Regions from separate parts of the Homo sapiens genome. Here region 1 is linked to region 2. The links are contacts of gene promoters, found by promoter capture Hi-C in blood cells and fetal thymus (Javierre and others, 2016). All regions are on one chromosome and are shown on one strand. Each heading gives the region's core, a stretch centred on a gene start or on the middle of the fragment in contact. The rest is flanking DNA. Distances are from core to core; before and after follow the strand shown.

The links. Contacts are between HindIII fragments. The CHiCAGO score rates a contact against its expected background, and 5 or more counts as called.
Region 1: the fragment with the promoter of NSRP1 here is called in contact with the fragment with the promoter of GIT1 in region 2 in 1 of 17 cell types (fetal thymus); the score reaches 8.8 in fetal thymus.

What each region holds. Positions count from the first base shown.
Region 1 is chr17:30,112,381-30,118,823 of GRCh38, forward strand. It overlaps NSRP1 (nuclear speckle splicing regulatory protein 1), which reads left to right and starts at 4,436. Exons shown (of 7, transcript NM_032141.4): 1 at 4,436-4,483; 2 at 5,700-5,793. The coding sequence starts at 4,464. MIR423 (microRNA 423) reads left to right here and starts at 4,699; the gene lies at 4,699-4,792. It overlaps MIR3184 (microRNA 3184), which reads right to left and starts at 4,780; the gene lies at 4,706-4,780. RefSeq lists enhancers at 3,947-5,146, 4,179-4,298, 4,319-4,418, 4,449-4,548 and silencers at 4,261-4,862, 4,799-4,868. The HindIII fragment of the contact is 3,145 bases long and covers 2,445-5,589 here.
Region 2 is chr17:29,586,980-29,592,656 of GRCh38, forward strand. GIT1 (GIT ArfGAP 1) reads right to left here and starts at 2,669. Exons shown (of 20, transcript NM_014030.4): 1 at 2,348-2,669. The coding sequence starts at 2,399. RefSeq lists enhancers at 951-1,850, 2,750-3,649 and silencers at 2,068-2,257, 2,518-2,997, 4,758-4,947. The HindIII fragment of the contact is 9,256 bases long and covers 1-5,020 here.

The DNA of each region.
Region 1 (6,443 bases), core at 3,186-5,685, 530 kb after region 2:
GAGGCTGAGGCAGAAGAATTGCTTGAACCTGGGAGGTAGAGGTTGCAGTGAGCTGAGATCACACCACTGCACTCCGGTCTGGGCAACAGAATGATACTCCATCTCCAAAAATAAATAAGTAAATAAATAAATAAAAAATAATAAAAATTTAAAAAATAAAAGGAAATTAAGTGCTTAGAGAGGCCAAAGGTGTCATGACAGGCCTTGAAGGAAGTTGGTGCATACTGCCTTCAAGATGCTACAAGTTAGCAGAAACTATAGGTAGAGAAAAGGTGTGAGTAGTTGGTTGGGGAAAAGATTGGGTGCAAAGAGAAGAAACTGAAAGTAGTGAAGTTAACATTAGTAACACTAGTGTCAAAAGATTAAGTGGAAGATCCAAGGGTTTCGGTAATGGATCCAATTTAGTCAACTGTTCTGTTCTGGAAGTTTAAGATGATTGGAAATTTCTGTTGTATAACATCCATGAGGATGGTAGTGATGATACTATCTTTTACTGGTTTACCCAGCTTGTCCTTACAGCATTTCTTGTTAAAGTTTCAAAAGTTGGGTTCTAAAATGTTAAGAGGCTTCTCTGTGCCCTTACTCACTGCTGCAGTTACCACCACTGCTGCAGACTCTACAACACTGCATCTGAGAAACTGTCCCTTCTAGCCTAGGGAAAATCCCATGACTGCTTCATTAAAATGTCCCAAAGGCAATGGAAGAATACAGAATATAACAATTGAAAAACTCAAATTATGTAGGATATTGAGTTCTCCCCTGGGTAATTATGGGTAACTAATTCCCCATTCAGTCTATTCAAGCAAGAGGCAGGCAGCCCTGGCAGGGGGCTTTATTTTTTACTCTTTATTTTAAGCAAAGTAACACATACTCATAAAAAGTCATTCTGTTATACAAGGTCTGTTGAGACCACAGCATTTCCCAGCCCCACCTTACCTTTATTTTCCTTGCTTCTGAGTCAGCTACTTTCAATTCTTTTTGCTCAGGAGTTGGTAAACAGCCCATTGGCCAAATCTGGCCAGCTGCCTGGTATGGTAAATAAAGTTTTATTGGAATAGCTATGCCCATGTCTGTGGCTGCTTTCACATTACCAGGGCAGAGTTGAGTAGTGGCCACAAAAACCATATGGGTCACATGGACTAAACTATTTGCTATCTGACTGCAGAAAAAGTTTGCCAACCCCTATTTTAGCTGTGGTTTTGACATTTACCTCTATATTGTTAAATTACATGCTTGTGTGGCTACTTTTGTTTTTCCGATTTAGGCAATATCTATTAATCTCCCAGTATACAATACAAAGATTTAGCTCCTTCCTCAGCATATATACACACACGCTTCCCATCCATTCTTCCCAATATTATTACATGGTAATGTAATCAGAATAGATCAATATTCAGTGTTTATATTATCATGATTATGTATGCTATTTACAGCTTAGCCATGTTGTAAATTACAATTATTTTCCATTCCTGTACATCCTTTTGCTTTCCCTAGAGTTAATGTCAAAAGAAAACTGGAGTGCTATAATATCACACAAGTAGATTTCAGAGCAAAGAATATTATAATGATAAAGGTTATTTGATAATGAAAAGTCAATTAAGAAGACATTACAATCTTAAACCTAATAACAGAGCTTCAAAATACATGAAGCTAAAACTGATAGAACTTCAAGTCTATAGACATAAAATATTTACCTAGGACTGGGGGATTTGGAGGAAAATAGGAGTGACTAATAGGTATATGGTTTCTTTGTTGGGTATTAAAAATAATCTAAAATTGGCCAGGTGCAGTGGCTCACACCTGTGATCCCAGCACTTTGGGAGGCTGAGGCGGGTGGATCACCTGAGGTCAGGCGTTTGAGACCACCCTGGCCAACATGGAGAAACCCTGTCTCTACTAAAAATACAAAAATTAGCTGGGTGTTGTGGCGGGCGCCTGTAATCCCAGCTATTTAGGAGGCTGAGGCAGGAGAATCGCTTGAACCCAGGAGGCTTGAACCCAGGAGCTTGCAGTGAGCTGAGATGCACCATAGCTCTCCAGCCTGGGAAACAGAGCAAGGCTCTGTCTCAAAAAACAAAAACAAAACTAAAATTGATTGTGGTGAGGGTAGTACAACTATGACTATACTAAACATACAACTTGACTATACTAAACCCCACTGAATTGCACACTTTAAATGAATGAATTGTATGATATGTGAATTATCGCTCAATAAAACTTTTTAAAAATATTTTTAAAAATATTATACTAGATAGAAATCTGAATCTATACAAAGACATGGAAACACCAGAAATGATAAATATGTGGGTAAACGTATTTTTCCTATTCAAAAAAATCTTTTTAAAAACCAAGTTACTTTTTATAGCAAAAATAATTTATTGTGCATTTATGACATAGTGACAATAGCACAAAACTAGGAGATAAAATGGAAGTATACTTTTCTAAGCTTCTTATACTATACACAAAGTGGTAGATTCTTACTTTAAGGCAGATTGTGATAAGTTTAAGACATATATTAGAAACCCTAAAGCAACAGCTTATATAACAAGCAAAGAAGTATGGTCAATAAACCAACAAAGGAGGCTGAAGCATGAAAATCATAAGCTGAATCACAGTTGGGAAAAATAGAAAACAAATAGCAATCATACTTTTTTTTTTTTTTTTTGAGATGGGGTCTGGCTATGTTGTGCATGCTGGCCTCAACCTCCCAAAGTGTTGGGACTACAGGCCTGAGCCACCCCACCCAGCCTGCAATCATAGTCACTTTAATGAAAATGTTTTAAGCATCCAAATTAAATGGAAGAGACTGTCAGACTGGATAAAAAAGCAAGACCCAACTATTTTCTGTCAACAAGTGATCCAATTTGAATGTAAATACACAAATAGATTAAAATGGGTTGAAAAAGATACACTATGCTAGCATTAATCAAAAGAAAGCTAGTTATATTGATAGCAGACCAAGCAGACAAAGAAGAATAAAGGAATAAAGAGGGCCACTTCTTAATGCTATAGAGGTTAGTAGAGGTTAATGCAAGAGAACGTAACAATCCTAAATGTTTACATACCTAATTTCAAAATACACGACACAAACTGATAGAATTGAAAGGAGAAGCAAATTCGCAATTATAGTTGGAGATTTCAACATCCTTATCTCAGTAATTGATCTCTTTGGCTGCTCTGAGACTAGCTGGGAATGAACCAAGAGTGAATGAGTGCACAGATGTGGGCAGAGTTTTCAAAAAGGTATCATATATGGGCCAGGCACGGTGGCTCACGCCTGTAATCCCAGCACTTTGGGAGGCTGAGGCGGGTGGGTCACATGAGGTCAGGAGTTTGAGACCAGCCTGGCCAACATGGTGAAACCCCGCCTCTACTAAAAAAATACAAAAATTAGCCAGGCATGGTGGCGGACGCCTGTAATCTCAGCTACTCAGGAGGCTGAGGCAGGAGAATCGCCTGAACCTGGGAGGCGGAGGTTGCAGTGAGCCAAGATTATGCCACTGCACTCCAGCCTGGGCGACAAGAGCGAGACTACGTCTCAAAAAAAAAAAAAAAAAAAAAAAAGTATCATATATGATCCTGATTCCTATACCCAATGGCCCGTGAACAGTATTATTAATAATTTTGGTCCTTGGGCCGGGCGCGGTGGCTCATGCCTGTAATCCCAGCAATTTGGGAGGCCGAGTCGGGCGGATCACCCGAGGTCGGGAGTTCGAGACCAGCCTGACCAACATGGAGAAACCCCGTCTCTACTAAAAATACAAACTTAGCCGGGCGTGGTGGCACATGCCTGTAATCCCAGCTACTCGGGAGGCTGAGGCAGGAGAATCGCTTGAACCCGGGAGGCGGAGGTTGAGGTAACCGAGTTCGCGCCTTTGCACTCTAGCCTGGGCAACAAGAGCGAAACTCCGTCTCAAAAAAAAAATTTTTTTTTTAATAATAATTTTGGTCCTATGTAAGGTATTATTAATACACAGATTTTCATTTTTCGCCTAATTATCCTGAACCAGTTAAAGTGAACACTTGGAAGGGGGTAGGGGGAATATCGATAGCCATGGCAGTGGTTTTCAAACTTTATCAGAATTACCCGCTGGTTAAAATTCAGATAACTCGCTTCACTCCAAAGTTTCTGATTCTGCAGGTTTGGGGTAGGGCCCGAGAATTTGTCATTTTAACAGTATCTCCGGTGTTGCTGATGCCGCTGGTCCCAGAACCACACACTGCGAACAACTGGCCTAGAACGTTGTCATTCCTTTCTCCTACAGATTTTGAGGCAGCCGGTGGGCTCCGAAACAAAACAGAGGTCACTGGATCCGATTCCCAGTACCATAGAAGTGACTCAAACCAGCGATTCAACCGACAAGCAGGATCCGGGCCACCCAAAGCCGCGCGAGAGTTTACGTGACGACATCGGCGTCAGCGTCACGGAGGCGTCGGCCACGTTCAGCGGACACGGGAGCAAGATGGCGATTCCGGGCAGGCAGTGAGTGATCCGGGAGTTAGGGTCAGGCTGGGGGATGAGAAACTACGGCGACTGTATCTTTGGCCGAGGAGTTTTAAATGCGCTGGAAGTGAAGGGACTGTGTCGTCAAGGGTAGAGACGGGAAAAAACGAGAAGTCCTGAGGAACATAGATTCCCCTCCCCCGTACATTTTCCCGGATGGAAGCCCGAAGTTTGAGGGAGAAACTTGTGAGGAAATAAAGGAAGTTAGGCTGAGGGGCAGAGAGCGAGACTTTTCTATTTTCCAAAAGCTCGGTCTGAGGCCCCTCAGTCTTGCTTCCTAACCCGCGCTTGAGTTTCTCCCCGCTTGGATGCTCTCAGGGGCAGTGTGAAGAGAGACAGTTCCTGGCTTCCTTAGAGGGCCTTGTTCTCCTTGGCAGAAGCTCAAGTCCTGATTCCCGCCCTTCCTTCTCGTTTTAGGAATATTGTTCTGAGAAGCCACAGAAAAAGGGTAGGCATATAGGAAATTGGGGTATACGTTGCCGCAAAAGAGACAAATACTGTACGTACTTGAAAGTTTTACCTTTGATGTGTAATCCTTACTTTTGATGCGGCCTCCCGTGATCTCCGCATCTTAAAGGCCAAAACGTGAGAAACTAAAGGAGTTGGATCTGATGGGATGGTTCTCTCAGATGCTCCGAGGCAAAGCACATGATCTTAATAAAGTGTAATGCGAACTTGCCCCATGGCTACTTGGGTTTCTCAGTTATCTTTTAAAAATTTTCGTGAGTTACACTATCCAGTCAGTTCTTAGAAACTGTGTAAGTACACAGTAGGAAAAAAAATCTAGCCATTTTCTTGACTGTTTAGACCACAAGGATAGTTGAAAGCATTTTAAAATCTTTAGTGGACATGAACTAAACTTTCCACTACACATGTTTTTTTTTTTTTTTTTTAAATGTTACTGTCACTTCGCCATCTTAAAACATTTCTGAACTTTTCATTTACTTCTCTTCTTTGATAAAAATGGTATTCGAGTTTGGCCCGTGTCCACAAATGATCACTTAGAGTAGTAATTATAGAATCTTACGGCATGTTAGAATTTTGAGATCACTGAGAAGCAAAAACAGTCTGTTACGTGTTCATAAAGCTTATGACATGTTTTGATTTGGTAGCTTCATGTGGAAGAGGTAGTAGATGTATTTGTTAACATTTAAACATAAAGGTTTAATTTCTATTTCAAAAAAAATATATGCAGGTATGGGCTTATTTTGCCAAAGAAAACACAGCAGTTGCACCCTGTTTTGCAAAAACCATCAGTGTTTGGGAATGATTCTGATGATGATGATGAGGTAAGGAAACCTATGTTTTACTCGTGCATGGTTGGAAATGTAAATTTTTTAAAAATTGAACTTGTGACTCTGATACCTTTGCCTTTGTTATTTGTCAGTACAGTGGAGTATAATTTACAGAATTGTCAAAAAGGAAGGTGTAAAGAAAGCAGCTCCACCGATTTTTTAAAGATTTTTTTCCCTCTAAAAGCTGCAAACTTTACCTTTAAACAAATACACGGTCTTTTCAGACTACTGAAATTGTCATAACAAAATTGTTGGTGTAAAGATCCCTAGGTATGAGTTATTAAGATGTCACCAATTTTCTACAAATTTTTATTAGCAAAGCAGTTTTTAATTTGTTAACCATGAGCTAAGATCACTATATAACAGTTCTTAACAACGCTACTTTTTTTTTAAATTCAGTGTCTGCCAAATGTAATTGCTCAGTTATAATCGTGGTAGTGAATAGTTACTCTTGATAGTACTACAGTAACATCTAATATCAACATTTTCTATTTTAGCAGCCAAAACTACTTCTGTGAAACCCACAGTTATATATCAGAAACAATCCCAAATGTGTGCTTTTCTTTTCTCTTTTTTTTTTTTTTTTTGAAACAGTGTCTTGCTCAGTTGCCCAGGCTGGAGTGCAATGCCGCGATCTCGGCTCA
Region 2 (5,677 bases), core at 1,419-3,918:
GGATGGGGCTCTCTGGGGACAGGCTGCATCTCACCTCTGACCTCCATGACCCCCCAAATTAACCAAGCACAAAAAGTCCCTGGCCCCACTCCTGTGGTTAGGACTGCAGGGCTCCTATCATAATAAAAGAAGCCTGTGACCCTGGGGTGGAGCGATACACCATGGGGCTGGCACTGGATCTGGACTCCGGACTGCTGGGTACCCTCATGCCTCTCTGCCTGAGATGCCACAGGACCCAGACCAAACATGCCGCTGCATGCCAGGGCCAGCATCCTAGGGTCCAGGTGTGGGATAGTCCCAAGCAGCCAGCCAGGGTCCTAACAAGCAGCCAAACACTCAGGGAGTGCCTGCCATGTGCTGGACACCTCGCTGGGTGCTAGGTGGGCTGATGAGTAAGACTGTCCACATCCTCCCCACCCCACCATCCTCACCTTCTCACCACCTTCCTGACCTCTATTGTGAATCAGGGGAAAGGAGGCATCTGGGGCACAAATTCCTCTGACAGATGAGGACCTGGGAGGAGGAGCTGGGCAATCCAACACATCTGATGCCCACCATTCCTCCCTGAGCCCACTGGGCATCCAGAGGCTGTGGTCGGACATTCAACGCAACATACAAAGGACAACTGCCTTGCTGGTGCTGCCCTTCACCCCTCCACCCCAGAATCAGACCACAGATTCGGAGATGGCAGCCCCCCAAAAACCATTTCTACTCCAACTTCTTTGCCTCTGAATTGAGGAAGCTGAGGACCCCACAGTGAGGAAAGTCTTGTTGGGATTACAGAGTAAGCTGGGAACAAAGGCAACACTAAGCCCCAGACTCCCCCGATTGGGCGCCTGCTAAGACTCTCCTCCACATTCCATGCCATGCTTACCCCACGGAGTTGTGGAACAGTGGGGAGACATTTATAAGGCAAGGTGCATCCTCAGCCCTGCCATCCCCAGACCTGCCTGCAGCTCGGGGAACGGAGTCACAGTTTCTTAGGGGTATGGACCCTCAACCCCAGGGCCCTCTAAACCATGATAAGCCCCTAGGAGGCCTTGGTCATAACCACCTATGGAGTATTTTGTGCCCAAGCCCTGCTAAGTCATAGTTCCCAAATACTCTAGCTTGGCACCCCCAGAACCACCAGAGCATCTGTGAGGCTCAACCGGTGGGGTCCTGGGCCTGCTCAAGGGGTGGCTGAAAGTTATGGGCCCACAAACCAGCACCCCATACTCTCACTCTTAATCATGCCCACAGCCCCGCTAGAGTTCACGGACCTCCGCAGCCTGCCCAGGGGCCTACCAGGGAGATAGCTCCTTTGCTAAAGAAAGAATGGATGTGGGCTAGAGCTTCCTTCCCAGGCCAGCTGCAGAGCCCCGTCACTGGCTGTCCTCCCTCATCAGAAGGGAGCAGCCTCTTGGATCATTACCCCTGACTTCCTCAGCAGGCCTGGGGGGTTTCACTCCAGCCCAGTCCTAACTCTGTTAGGAAAAGGAAGGGAACCACCATGTAAATACAGCCAGGAGACAGGCCAGGAAGCCAGCAGGATACGGGGAATCTCGGCACGGCCTCCCACCCATTTCTGGCCAGACTGGGCTAGGGGACAGGGAGGGGCCCGCACCCAGGATAGCTTGATGCCAAGCTCACTTTCCCAAGCAGGCCTTACCGGTGAACAGGAACAGCAGGGTCCAGCCGAGCTGTTCCCAGTCACCACCAGCAGGCCTGGGGATGCCTCCCGAGAAGACACCCGGGTCTAGACTGGCCCTGAACGCCAGGCCCGGCAAGGAGCGCTAGCCTTAGGAACCCGAGGCAGGGAGTCCTGGGAGTAGCCACCGCTCATCTGCTCCTGAGGAGACGGTATTCAGGCCCCACTGGCGCATCTGCCCGGCCCTCTGCTCCTTGCCCTCCACCACCCCGGCAGGCGTACCGACCACGCGAGCAGCAGGTGCAAGACGCGGGGGTGGCACTGAGATGACATAAAACCACACTCGCCCCCACCTCCCAAGCCCTGACGGCCTCCGCCACGGCCCTCCTGCCACCCCAGGCTGGCGCTTCCGTCGGATACAGAGATGGAGGTGGAGGAGCAGCCAGCTGCCCGCCTCCCTCAGACCGAGGAGCGGGAGGCGGCGCCGGGAACGTCCTTCCTCGCTAGTCCACGGCCTCCAGGGAGCATGGGCACCCCAGGCCGGCCCTCCCGCCAAGGGCGCAGCTCCGCAGTGGCCGAGGCGGGGGCCCAGCCTGGAGGCCGCAGCCCCCCGCCCCGCCCAGCCCTCCGGCCCCGCACAGCGCTCTTGCCAGGCCCCGGCGCCCGCCCGGCGGCGGCCTGGCTGTGCGGTCCCGCCCCCGGCCCCGCCGCGCTTACCCGGGGCGCTGCAGTCCGCACACACCTCCGCTCGCGGCCCCTTTCGGGACATCCTCAGCGGCGACGCGGCCGCAGCCCTCTGGGCCAGCGTGGGGGGCGCGGGCGGCGGGCCCGGGCGGCGGCGGCGGCCCCTGCTGCCCGGCCCGGCTCCGGCGAGGCCCCGGCGAGGCTCCGCGCGCCCGGCCAACCGTCCGCCCCGGGGCTGGCCCGGAACCCGCCGTGCCCGCCTGCCCGCTCGCCCTCGGGCGCCCTCCGCCCCGCGCCGCCCCGCCGCCGCTCGCGGCTCCTCTCTCCGCCCCCTGCGCGGCTCCCGGCCGCTTCTGCAGGAAGCGGCGCAGGCCCTGCCCACAGGGGGAGGGGCCGCACCCCCGCCCCGCCGCGCGCTGCCGGCCGCGCCCCCTAGAGAAAGGAAGCCCGGGCGCGGGCAGGAGGGGGCGGGGGCGCTTAAAGGGGCCGCGGCAGATGCCCGGCCCCGGCGGGCAGCGTGGCCTGCGGCCCTGGCCTCCGCTGCAGCGCTCGCCTGGCCCGGAGGCAATGTGAGTCACCCTCACAGCCCCCTCCCCTTCACTTTCCGCGTGGGGTGGACCGGGGGACGCTGGGCCCACGGACGGCGAGGGTGGGGATTAGGGAAGAAGGACTTGGAGGCCCAAGTCCCGCTCCAGGTCAAAGGGGCTGTGCCTTGGGGTACCCGTCTATCTCTGGTTGGGGTGAGGTGTGCGTCCCTGTCCCGTAGGTGTCCACATCTGTGTGTCCAGGGGTGTGTGTGTATGTGTCACACTCTTGCTGAATACGCCCACTGCTAACAATATGGACGCCCAGGTGCCAGAAAGGTCAGGCAGTGTATTCCCCTGCCTCCGGACTAAAAATATATCTATCTCTCCATGCATCCTTCCATCCAGAGAGGAGAGAATCTGGGCGGTTTTTAAAGACCTCCCGAGGAGTGACCACTGTGCCTGTGTGCACTCACATCCACTTGTCATCCGCCTTACACACACCCACGGTGTTTCTGGGCCACCAGAGGTGTGTGTGTCCAGAAAGGGTGCATATAACATAGAGGGGCCGTTTCAGGTGACGGCCTTTCTTCCTGGACTTCACACGACGAGGCAGGCAAAGGCAAGGCAGGTGAGGGACGTGGGTGGGCTGGGGGGCAGGGAGCCTAGGTAGAGGCCGCACATGAGCGCAGCCCCCGCACTGAGCATGCGCCCCCATACGCGTGTGCCGCGCGTGTACCCAACCCCCAATCCCTGCAGCAGCAAAAGGCCCGGGCACTCTGCTTGTGGGGAGAGGGTAGAGGTCCCCAGGGCCAGACCTGGGGGCCAGGTCAGTGGTGACAATTGAGGAGGGGTTCTCCAAGAGTCAGAGACTCCTGCTTGTTAAGATGGGGGCAGTCCTTTGGCAGGGGTGCTCAAGTTGGTCGATTATCCCAACGGTGCCAGAGCGGCAGTGATTTGTGGGTGGGCAGGCTCCTTCCCTAGGGGAGACAAGTAATGCTCATGAGTCACACCACCCGAAATACATGCAAAGCTGCCTCCATCGCCTTTTGCTGCGGCCCAGATTGACAAGTTTGTTTGAAATCGCGATCCATGGGCTTTATTTATAATTGCACCTTAAAAAAATCTTGCAGGCCTCCCCTCCCTCGACAGCCAGCCGCTCAGCTGGTGGGGCTTTTGCAAGCAACGATACCTAGCTGGTGTGTAGGGGGGAGCACCACCTGCCGCCCCGAGCTGCTCTCTCACCAGAGTCCATGGGCTTGGTGGCCTCAGCGGGAAGGGGGTAAGGGGCGGGGGGAGTGAGACGGGAGGAGTGGCCAGGCAGCCCGTGCCAGGCGCTCAGTCCACGAGCGGTGGCCGCCCGTTCACCCCCGATCGACCCCCAGCTATGGAATTTCATTTATTAAATGTCGAGGAGGCTGCTGGCAGCCCTGCCGCTTGGCTGTCTTTGTTTCTCCGCTGTGTGGGCGCGTCTCGAGCACGTGGCAGCTGAGAGCGCGGGCCGAAGCGCAAGCGACCTGGGTTCAGTGTCTACCGCCGCCTGGCAAAAAAAGAACACGGCCGCCCAGGGGACAGTTCCCCACAATCGACAACTCCCCACAATCCATCCTGAACTCCCCCTGTCCTCGGACTCCTGGGCTTTGCTGGGGAAGAAGGATGATTCACTCTGCTTACCCCTCCACCCCACTCCCCATCTCCTGGTTGGCTCAGAGACTACCTGGGAGTGGCCCTGGCGCGGACACATCGTCCAAACTTTGTTTCCCCCAGCCCCGTCACAGCCAAACTTCTGGGCCTGGGACTGGAGATAAAAGGGTTTCTGGATTCCCCCGTGGAGATGTCACCACCCCAGGAAGCAGGACTGCTACAGTGGAATCACACACAAGGTTCGAAAAACAATTTAATAAGGAAATGCACAGGCATGCTCCCGGCCACTCCTAGATGCCCCTCAACCGCGCCAGCCCCCTCCCCTGCACTGGCTGCAGCCACGACACTCTGCTGACCCCTGGTGGTGCAGGCGGGCAGCGGTCCCGGGCCCCCGGAGACGCCAGCTGGCTCCTCCCAGGCGGGAGAAAGGGGCGAGGCAGCCCGCTCCTCCCTCATCTCTTCCCGCTGGGGCCTGGCACCACAGGGTGTGGAGGAGGAAGGAGGGAAGACCACACAAAGAAACCTGAGAGAGTTTGCAAGCTTTTGCTGGCACCTCCCACACAAACACTTCTTGGATTGTTGTTTTAAGTAGGGCCGGTGTGGAATCCCTTATTCCTGCCTTGTTCTGAGGTGGGCTCAAGAAGGCACCGTGCCTGGTCCCGCCACCTGTCTCGGCCCGCCTGGTTGGGGGAGGGAGGCGCTGTTTCCAGGGCAGTCATTATCCTTAGCTCACCCCAGGAGGTAGTATCTAGATTCTCATTTTGAAGGGGAGTGGACCGAGAAAGTCGGAAAAATTAAGCAGTTTGCTCTTTTAAGGTCAGGCAGTTGGAGCTATTCGAACTCTGGTCTCTCTGACATCACAGTCCCCTCCCTCCAGGGACTGGTCCAAGCCTCTTGGTCCTTCCAGGCCTTGCAATTGGCGCTTGAGAGGCCAATTCAACTTTTACCACACCCTCTGCAGGGACCATTCTGGAAGTACCTCTTCACCCTGGGGTCATTCAGGAAGGAGACAGTCTCTGGAATCAGTCACTTCCCTTCCTGAAGGGCCAGCTGGGTGGAGGAACGGAGCTGCCACCTGCTGCTTTTTCTGTCCAACCTCACTCTGGTTCTTGCTGGGGACAGTGTGCGGGGGGAAAGGGACCATCTTTCCCGCGTTACTGGACATTCTGTTTCCAATGACATGTGTGGAAGATGG